Linked DNA regions of Homo sapiens: regions 1 and 2 are each linked to region 3. Evidence: promoter capture Hi-C in 16 types of primary human blood cells and fetal thymus (Javierre and others, 2016). All regions are on one chromosome and are shown on one strand. Each heading gives the region's core, a stretch centred on a gene start or on the middle of the fragment in contact. The rest is flanking DNA. Distances are from core to core; before and after follow the strand shown. Region 1 has its middle 21 kb from the start of MAPKAPK2. Region 2 has its middle 3.5 kb from the start of DYRK3. Region 3 holds the start of IKBKE (inhibitor of nuclear factor kappa B kinase subunit epsilon).

Region 1 (2,700 bases), core at 44-2,543, 190 kb after region 3:
AAGGATGGTGAAAAATTAAGGGTGGCCAGAGCCTAGGATGGCAGTAATTGAGTCTAGTGGAAAAGCTGTGGGATGGTTTAAAGGGATATTATAGCTCCAGTTAAGGAGTTCACCAGTTAAGCAGACAAATAAGGAACCAAAGATGTTCTAATGCAAGGGAGGGACACAATGAGCTTCTTTTTGGAAAGGCAATTTTCTAGGAGGAGATGGCACTGTTCAAATGCAAGCAATAGGACCTGAGACAGGGATCTGTTCCTCTGCTCCTCTCGGGGCCCCACCCCACATCCCACCTCCTCACCTCCCCATCCCCATCTTTCTCCAGAGAACAGTTGTTATTTGAAATCTGTTACCATCCTGATTTTGCAACTAAAGAACGGGGCCAAATAAATGAGCTTATTTCCTCTTCTAGGACAATGTGGGTTGAACACCCAGGAGGACATTTCCCCTTCCTCCAGTTTTTACCCCATTCCCAAATTTGACGACCGAGAGAATGAGATGAAACCTTAAGTGGAACAGCCAGTCTGTGGGACTCAGGAACTGCCAATCCTAGAGGAACCAGCCAACCCCAGAGCTTGTCAGTTTCCCCAGGGCTCGTTCCACATTTTGTGACAATTCCCCCAGGTCTAAGCTGAAAAACACCAAAAAATAGGCCAGCTCTTTTCCATTTAATTAGCCATTCCTCCAAGGATGCCAGGTGGAATGAAGTACGAGCAGATGCATGGGGACAAGAGAAGGCGGGAGTAGATGCTAAATGGGGTTCTGTGAGCCCAGGCTCACCTCTACCAAGGCTGCTTCTTAGAATAAGGAGCTCAAGAGGCAGACGAAGGGGCTGCAGCCTTTGGGCTTGCAAGCCAAGGGTTTCAGGCACTGGGCACGGAGGGGAGCCGGCATGGCCAGTGAGGAGGCCAGAAGGGTGGGAGCAGGTGCCGTGGGAGCAGGTGCTGGGGCAGCTGTGCAGGGTCTCTAGGGCAGGAGGAACCGCTGCTTCCTCCGCAAGGGCGAATGCAGGGTCGCCTGGGGCTCACCCGCCCTAGTCCGGCTCCTGTTTCAGGGCTGTGGGCAGCCAACAGACCACACCGGCAGCCTTGTGATAGCAGCCAACTGAGGTGCTGGAGTCTATTTTTGGAGCTCTTAAGAGTAGGGGGAACTGCCAGCTGCCTGGGACCAGATGATCTCTGCAATGCCTTCCTTATCTAAAACAGGGTGACGCGTGCTAAGCAAATGCAGGCAGCACTCGGGCAAGGGAGAGAGAAAAAGACCCCTTAGAGCCCTGAGGGTCTCTCACCCTTAGCAAATACCTCCTTAGCGCCGCAGAAAGACCACCGATGTGGAGCAACTACCCCCCCTGGTGGTGAATATCGGGATAAGATTACACAGGGGCAGCTTACTTGGCCCTCACTTGGTCTTGCAATTTCTCCCCCAAGTCTCTGAAAGGTGACTGGGAGCCTGCGGTGTGAGTCCAGGGTGATTCCTTTTCTTTCTAGCTTCCTTCTTTTTCTCCTGTTTGCAGTTATGGTCCCTAGCCAGAGGCTTTCAACTTTATGGATCAACATGGCACAGTGGAGGAAGCATTGGCGCTGTGCCCTGAATCTGAGTTTGAATTTCTTTATTTAAGCCTAGCTGTTTCCATATCTGTAATTTGGAGATGATGCTAGAGGCACTGTCTGCCTCCCAAGGAGGCTGTGAGATCCAATGTGAACCACTAATCACAGACAAGGAAAGAGGGATGCTTCCTGGTCCCACGACCCAGTTAGTTCCATTGCTGGCTAGGGTGATCTTCCCTGTCAGAAGCCAGCATCACTGTCACCCATGCCTGGTCCTGAGATACCCCACAAGGCTCAGCTCCTCGTGGCTGCTAGGATTCTTTCATTCTGGTCAGGAAGTCACCTTTCCAGCTGCCTAGGCTGATGGCCAGAGGAGGACGGGATGACATGGTGATTACGGCACTCAGGCTGGAAAGACATAGGGAGGAGTCGTGAGCCTATTTGTTGTTGTTGCCACTTAACAGTCTTATTATTGACATTTATTTTTAGGTATCTTACCGGACATTTCTTTTATGCACTGTGACTCTTTGTCTATCAGATGCTGGATTTTGTTGGTGAGACACAAGACAGAGAACAAATTCTTGTTCTCCCTAAGGGAGATACTTCGCCCATGCTTGTGACTCTCTTTCCACAGGTCAGTTAGTGGAGCTTTTGCTATAGCTTCTTTTCTTTTCTTTTTGTACTGCTGGCTTAAAAACAAAAATGAGGTGAGTTGTCTGAATGGTCTGAAAGGTCAATTCTTTGGGAGCAATGTTGCACTGTGTGTTTAAAAGTTATTTTCAAGAGTTTTGCTAGGTGTACCTCAATTTTTTTATTGTGGCAAAATACAACACGAAAGTTACTATTTTAATGATTTTTACATGTACAATTCATTGGCATTAAGTACATTAACGATGTTGTGCAACTATCACCATCATCTGTCTCTAGAACTTTTTCATCATCTCCAACAGAAGCTGTACTGGGCTGCCACTATTAAAGAACCATAAAGAAACTATTAGCTTCTTTATGACTTAAGCCACTGCTAATTATCTTTTCAACTGCACGCATTCTCTCCTTCTGGTCTCCCTAGACTGGGCACAAGAGTAGTGGCTACTGTGTTCTGGCTCCTTCTCCAGGAGAATTAATCAGATAATACAGCAGAGAAGGGGGCTGGGGC
Region 2 (2,700 bases), core at 162-2,661, 160 kb after region 3:
TCCACCTGCCTCAGCCTCCCAAAGTCCTGGGATTACAGGCGTGAGCCACCGCACTCGGCTAGTACATTTTCTTTAAACAGATTTAGTTTGATATTTGCAATAGAAAAAGCCCTAACCTGTACACTAGGTGATTGAGAGAGAACTAGTTCCTTGGCCCAAATGCTGTGAATAGAGCAGGTGCATTGGTCTTCTAAGACCTTCCATGAGCCAGATGACTCAATAGGACTTGGTCTCCAAGGTCTACAGTAGTGATTTCCAAACCTGGCTGATGAACAACAGCCACAATAAAAATATGAGCAGAGATCCTTACCAAGAAACTGTTCATCATTAGATCTGGTGGGATGGAGGGTAGGCATAATTGGTATTTTTCAAAAGTACCCCTATCATTTATTTATTGCCATACCCCAAAGCTTAGTGGCTTAAAGTAATCATTTTATTTGCTCATAATTCTCAAGGGGCTGTTGATTTGGGTGGGGTGCAGCCAAGAGGTTCTTCTGCTAGCTTTACGTGGAACTCTCATATGGCTGCTGTCAGCTGGCAACTCAGCCAGGTGGCTTCCCTCACTTGTCTGGCAATTGGTATTAGCTGAGGACTACAGAAATCCAGCTCAGACTTGTCCACATGGTGGCAGCATCTAAGAGCAAGAGAGAAGAAGCTGTAAGGGGGGTCTCCTGAGGCCTAAGCGCCTAAATTCCTCACGTGTTATTGGTCAAATCAAGTCACGTGGCCAGTCAGCTTCAAGAACCAGGAAAATTGTTTCCTCTACTCCCTGGGAACAGCTGCAAAGGATGTGCTATGTTTAATCTATTACAGTACCCAAGGTTCCTAAGCTTTAATGCAACAAATTACAAATTTAGTGGCTTGAAACAAGGAAAATTTATTATCTTACAGTTCTGGAAGTCAGAACTCCTAAAATTGAGGTGTAAGCAGAGATTCGTTCCTTCTGGAAGCTCTAGAAGAAAATTTGTTTCCCTGCCTTTTCCAGCTTCTAGAGGCCACCTTCATTCCTTAACTCACGGCCCCCTCCTCCATCTTCAAGACCAACAACAGCATCTTCAAATCTCTTTCCCTCTCTGACCTCTGTTCCATGGTCACATTTCCCTCTCTGACCCTCCTGCTTTCCCCTTCCATCCTTTTTTTTTAGATGGAGTCTCACTCTGTCACCCAGGCTGGAGTGCAGTGGCGTGATCTCTGCTCACTGCAACCTCAGCCTCCTGGGTTCAAGTGATTCTCCTGCCTCAGCCTCCCGAGTAGTTGGGACTACAGGCACACACCACCATGCCCAGCTAATTTTTGTGTTTTTAGTAGAGACGGGGTTTCACCATGTTGGCCAGGGTGGTCTCGAACTCCTGACCTCAGGTGATCCGCCCACTTCGGCCTCCCAAAGTGCTGGGATTACAGGCATGAGTTACTGCACCTGGCCTCCCCTTCCATCTTAAAAGGACTCCTGTGATTACAGTGGGCCCACTCAGATAATCTAGGAAAATCACCCCATCTCAAGATCCTTAACTTCATCACATTTGCTAAGTCCCTTTTTGTCAAGTAAAGTGACATATTTACAGATTCTTGGAATTAGGATGCGGACATCTTTGGGGAACTATCATTCTGCTTACCATCTTCAGAATCTTAAATCAAGAGAAACTATGTCACAGAATTCAAGGGTCCAGTGGTCTAGCCTGGGCTAGCCTGCCAGGCTCAGGGAATACAGGTGGAATACAGGCAGTCGAGGGGCTGAGTTTTTCAACCAAACAGACCAGGGTTTGAATTTCAGTTCATCACTTACTGGCTGGGTGACCTTGGGCAAGTTATTAAACTCTGAGACTGTTTTCTGAAGTGTAGGATGGAGATAATACCTATCTCACGGGACTACTGTGAGTTTTAAATGAGCAAATATGTTAAAGTGCTTCAGATAGTGCTTGGAACATAATAAATACTTAGCAAATGGTAATGATGATTAGAAAGACTCCTGGTTTGGTTTCAAGATTTCAGAAATGAAGCTTCATAGGACCCCTCAGGGCTATAGGTGGAACTGGTCACGCTGACTTAGGAGGAACAAGTGGAAAAAGATGGCAAAAGTTTTGGAAAAGAAAAATAGGTGAAGAGTTTGTGATAATAAGGACAACCTTTAGGGTTTAGGAGACACAGAACTAAGTGTGTCTTAGTTGTAGCTGTACTACAGCACTGCGGGCATGGCTTTTGTTTGCTTTGTTAATAAGGGGCATTTTTCAAATCTTGGTGGAGAGGGGAGGGCATAAGAACAGGAGATGCCTGAGGTATAGAAGAGAGACAGTTTTCTGAGGCTCCAGAAAAATAAGCCATGGCTTTAGTGTTCCAGTGAGCTAGATTTCAGTGTTTCTGAAAAAAATAGCAAGTATACATTTCAGGAACACGGGTCAATTTGAGGTTAACATAGCTTGAGGAAAAAAGTAAGTTTCACTGGTTCTCTCCAGTGATTTTTAAAAAATATTTTCCAATTCTGTGATGCACATGTCACAGTAGGCATTATGGCACATTTTGCTGTACAGAAATGTCAATGAAACTTGTCCAAACTTAACATAACCTACTAACAGCTATTTTATCACAAAATTCCAGGTAAATGTGGCCACGGGGATGTTTTCTTAATCTGTGCATTTGAAACTTTGATCACATTGTGAATGTCCCAGTGGGTTTTTAAGATCCTGGAATAGTTGCATCTTTTTT
Region 3 (2,700 bases), core at 9-2,508:
ACCAACCACACAGTGAAACCCCATCTCTACTAAAAATACAAAAAGTTAGCCGGGCATGGTGGTGCATGCCTGTAGTCCCAGATACTTGGGAGGCTGAGGCAGAAGAATCACTTGAACCCAGGAGGTGGAGGTTGCAGTGAGCTAACATCATGCCACTGCACTCCAGCCTGGGTGACAGAGTGAGACTCCATCTCAAAAAAAAAAAGCAAGCTGGGAAGACTGGGTGGAACATGAGGATCTCAGGCACTCAGGCACATTCCTCCTGGTCCTGATGTGAGAAGTTGCAGCAACTCCTCCAGCTGGAGGTGTTATGGGGAGTTCTCTTTATCTGAGCACTAGGCAGTTCTCAGCTCTGCTCCTGTTCTAGTGTCACTGTGGGAGGGGTGGGGCTGGCGGAGGAAACCACCAGGTGTGGCCATGGGAAAGTCCCTCCAACATTCTATAGAAACATGGAATTTCCTGGTTTTAACCATTTCATATCCAACTGCCATCTCTGAGCTGACCAGAGCAGGACAGACCCCTCCAGCCTCCTAGGACATTTGATGTGGGGCATCGAGTCCTGGCTGGGAAGTTGGCACCTGGGTGCCAGCCCCAGCAGTCTCTGAAGAGCATGGGTAAATTACTGAAGTGTGTGGGCCTCCATGCCTTCAATGCCTTTCTGTAAAATGCTTTCCAAGCTCCCAAACAATTCCAAATATATCCATGTCATCCAATCAACCCACAGAGTAGCTGTTACTCTGCGGGTGAGTGAGCTGGCTGGGAGGGGCTGCATGCTGTGTGCTCAGGTCACACTGGAAGGCATCAGCTGGGTCCCCGCGCTTGCTCTCGGACCTCTGCAGGCCTCCTGGGAAGGTGACTCAGATCCAACTTCTAGGACTGGATCGGCATAGCTCCCACACTTCCTTGGGGTTCCTGGGTGTGGGAGCATGGACTTCCCAGGCAGCTTTCCACTTAGTTAACTTGCCCAACCTGCTCTGTTGACTCTGGGAAGAGCCCTGAACTTCCCTGCTCCAGTGAACTGTGGGAGATGCCAAAACAGCACCCAGCTGCCCATCAAGATTACCAGAAGGGCCCCAGTTCCTGGCTTCTCTGTGGCTCACACTCTGGTCCTATTGCCTACCCTTGGGAACTCAGAGCATCCTCTTTCTCTTTTCTGCTGAGCTGGTGGCTGCACCGAGTTGCCTCTGTCTCTTTAAGAGAGAAAGAGAGAGCGAGAGACGGAAATCAGGAAGTGCGAGAGAGCTGAGAGCCAGGACTCAGTGCTGAGCTTGGTGTCCCACCGCCACAAGGAGGCAGGGAAGAAACCCACTAGTCCCAGCTCCTGGGGTGGCACAGACATTGCAACTGGCCCTGCCTGTGGGTCCTAGGGGCCCTTGGCTACCAGGAGGCTAAGAACACTGCTCATGAATGACAGTGAGCCCTGAAAGCTCTGGGGGTGTCACCCAGTCCCACAAGCCTGCATCCCCTGCAGTGGAGATGGGGTGAGTGTGCAGCGTGCGGAGGGGGGTGGGGGTGGAATGAGGGGCCAGACAAGGGGCAGCTGCAGGGCAGCTCAGCCGGGTGCAGGGGTGTGGGCTTGTTGGCAGCGGTGCTCTCACATAGAGCGTTGTGTGTGGCATGGAGGTGAGCCACCACGGGCCAACCACAAGCCCTCCCTGGGCTCTGCTTACCAACACCCAAAGCCAGCGATCAGCACCCAGCGCCTGCCCTCACCTTTCCCGGGGTCTTTCTCCCTGGCCGGAGTCTCAGGAGTAGGAGACGCTGGGAAAGGCTCCCTGAACAGTTTGGGAATAGAGCTGGAAACCCCCAGCCCAGCCCTGTGGGGGAAGGTGACAAACAGGAAAGGGTTAAAGGGCTAGGGCCGGCGGCCTTTGATGGAGGCTGAGAAGCAACTGCACTGAGGGGCGCCTCTCATCCGCCCTCCTCTTTCCGGTGTAGCTCAGCTCCTGGACGTGCCACAGACAGAAAGCATAACATACACTCGCCAGGAAGAGCCTTTGCCTGACTCAGGGCAGCTCAGAGTGTGGGGTAAGTGCACTTGGCCACAGCAGAGCCCTGAGGAGGGAGGGGAGGGGAGAGGTGGGTGGGTGGTGTCTCACATGCTTCACTGTCCACTGCTCATTCATCCAACCACTGGCTGAGGGCCACTGAGCCCTTCTTTGCACCAGGTGCTTGGGGTGGTGGGGGGAGGATCTGCAGAGCGTGCAGAGTTAAGCCAGATGTGCCACAACCAGAGCTCCCGGGCACAGAATCCAGGGGCACACCGCTTGTCTGGGGGTCTGCGCTTTGCACCTCACTGCCTATTATCCCAGAGTCCTGAGCTGTTCCTTGCCCCAGTATCAGAGCCCTTGGCCTTGATTTCAGCCTGCTGTGCTCCAACCCCAGCCCCAGCCCCCAGACCTGCTGGCTGCCTCCAGCCTCAGCGGGGAAAACCAGACCCACTCATTCATGCTGAGCTACTGTGTTGTCTTCAGGAAGCCTCTCAGTACCTCAGTTGCTTCTGTGTAATGTCCGCTCCTACCTGATCTGAAACTAGGAGTTGACCACCGATCTCTTCAAGGGGCCTCTGGCTCAATGAAATGACATTATCAAGGATTTGCATTTTTAAAAAAGATTACACAGAGAAAAAGTTCAGAGCGAAGGAACATAGGATTCCAGGCATGGCAACCCTCAGTTTGAGAACCTGTAAGATGTTAGAAC

Evidence for each region. Contacts are between HindIII fragments. The CHiCAGO score rates a contact against its expected background, and 5 or more counts as called.
Region 1: a contact is called between a fragment that was not itself captured here and the fragment with the promoter of IKBKE in region 3, in 5 of 17 cell types (neutrophils, total CD8 T cells, naive CD4 T cells and 2 more). The highest score is 7.7, in neutrophils.
Region 2: a fragment that was not itself captured here is called in contact with the fragment with the promoter of IKBKE in region 3 in 6 of 17 cell types (activated CD4 T cells, total CD8 T cells, neutrophils and 3 more); the score reaches 5.9 in activated CD4 T cells.

The regions. Positions count from the first base shown.
Region 1 is chr1:206,663,027-206,665,726 of GRCh38, forward strand. No RefSeq gene overlaps it. Among named protein-coding and RNA genes, the nearest start is that of MAPKAPK2, 21 kb to the right of the region's middle. The HindIII fragment of the contact is 9,186 bases long and covers 1-2,700 here.
Region 2 is chr1:206,630,637-206,633,336 of GRCh38, forward strand. No RefSeq gene overlaps it. Among named protein-coding and RNA genes, the nearest start is that of DYRK3, 3.5 kb to the right of the region's middle. RefSeq lists an enhancer at 686-755. The HindIII fragment of the contact is 1,167 bases long and covers 829-1,995 here.
Region 3 is chr1:206,469,218-206,471,917 of GRCh38, forward strand. IKBKE (inhibitor of nuclear factor kappa B kinase subunit epsilon) reads left to right here and starts at 1,259. Exons shown (of 22, transcript NM_014002.4): 1 at 1,259-1,481; 2 at 1,939-2,028. RefSeq lists enhancers at 169-806, 326-635. The HindIII fragment of the contact is 16,341 bases long and covers 1-2,700 here.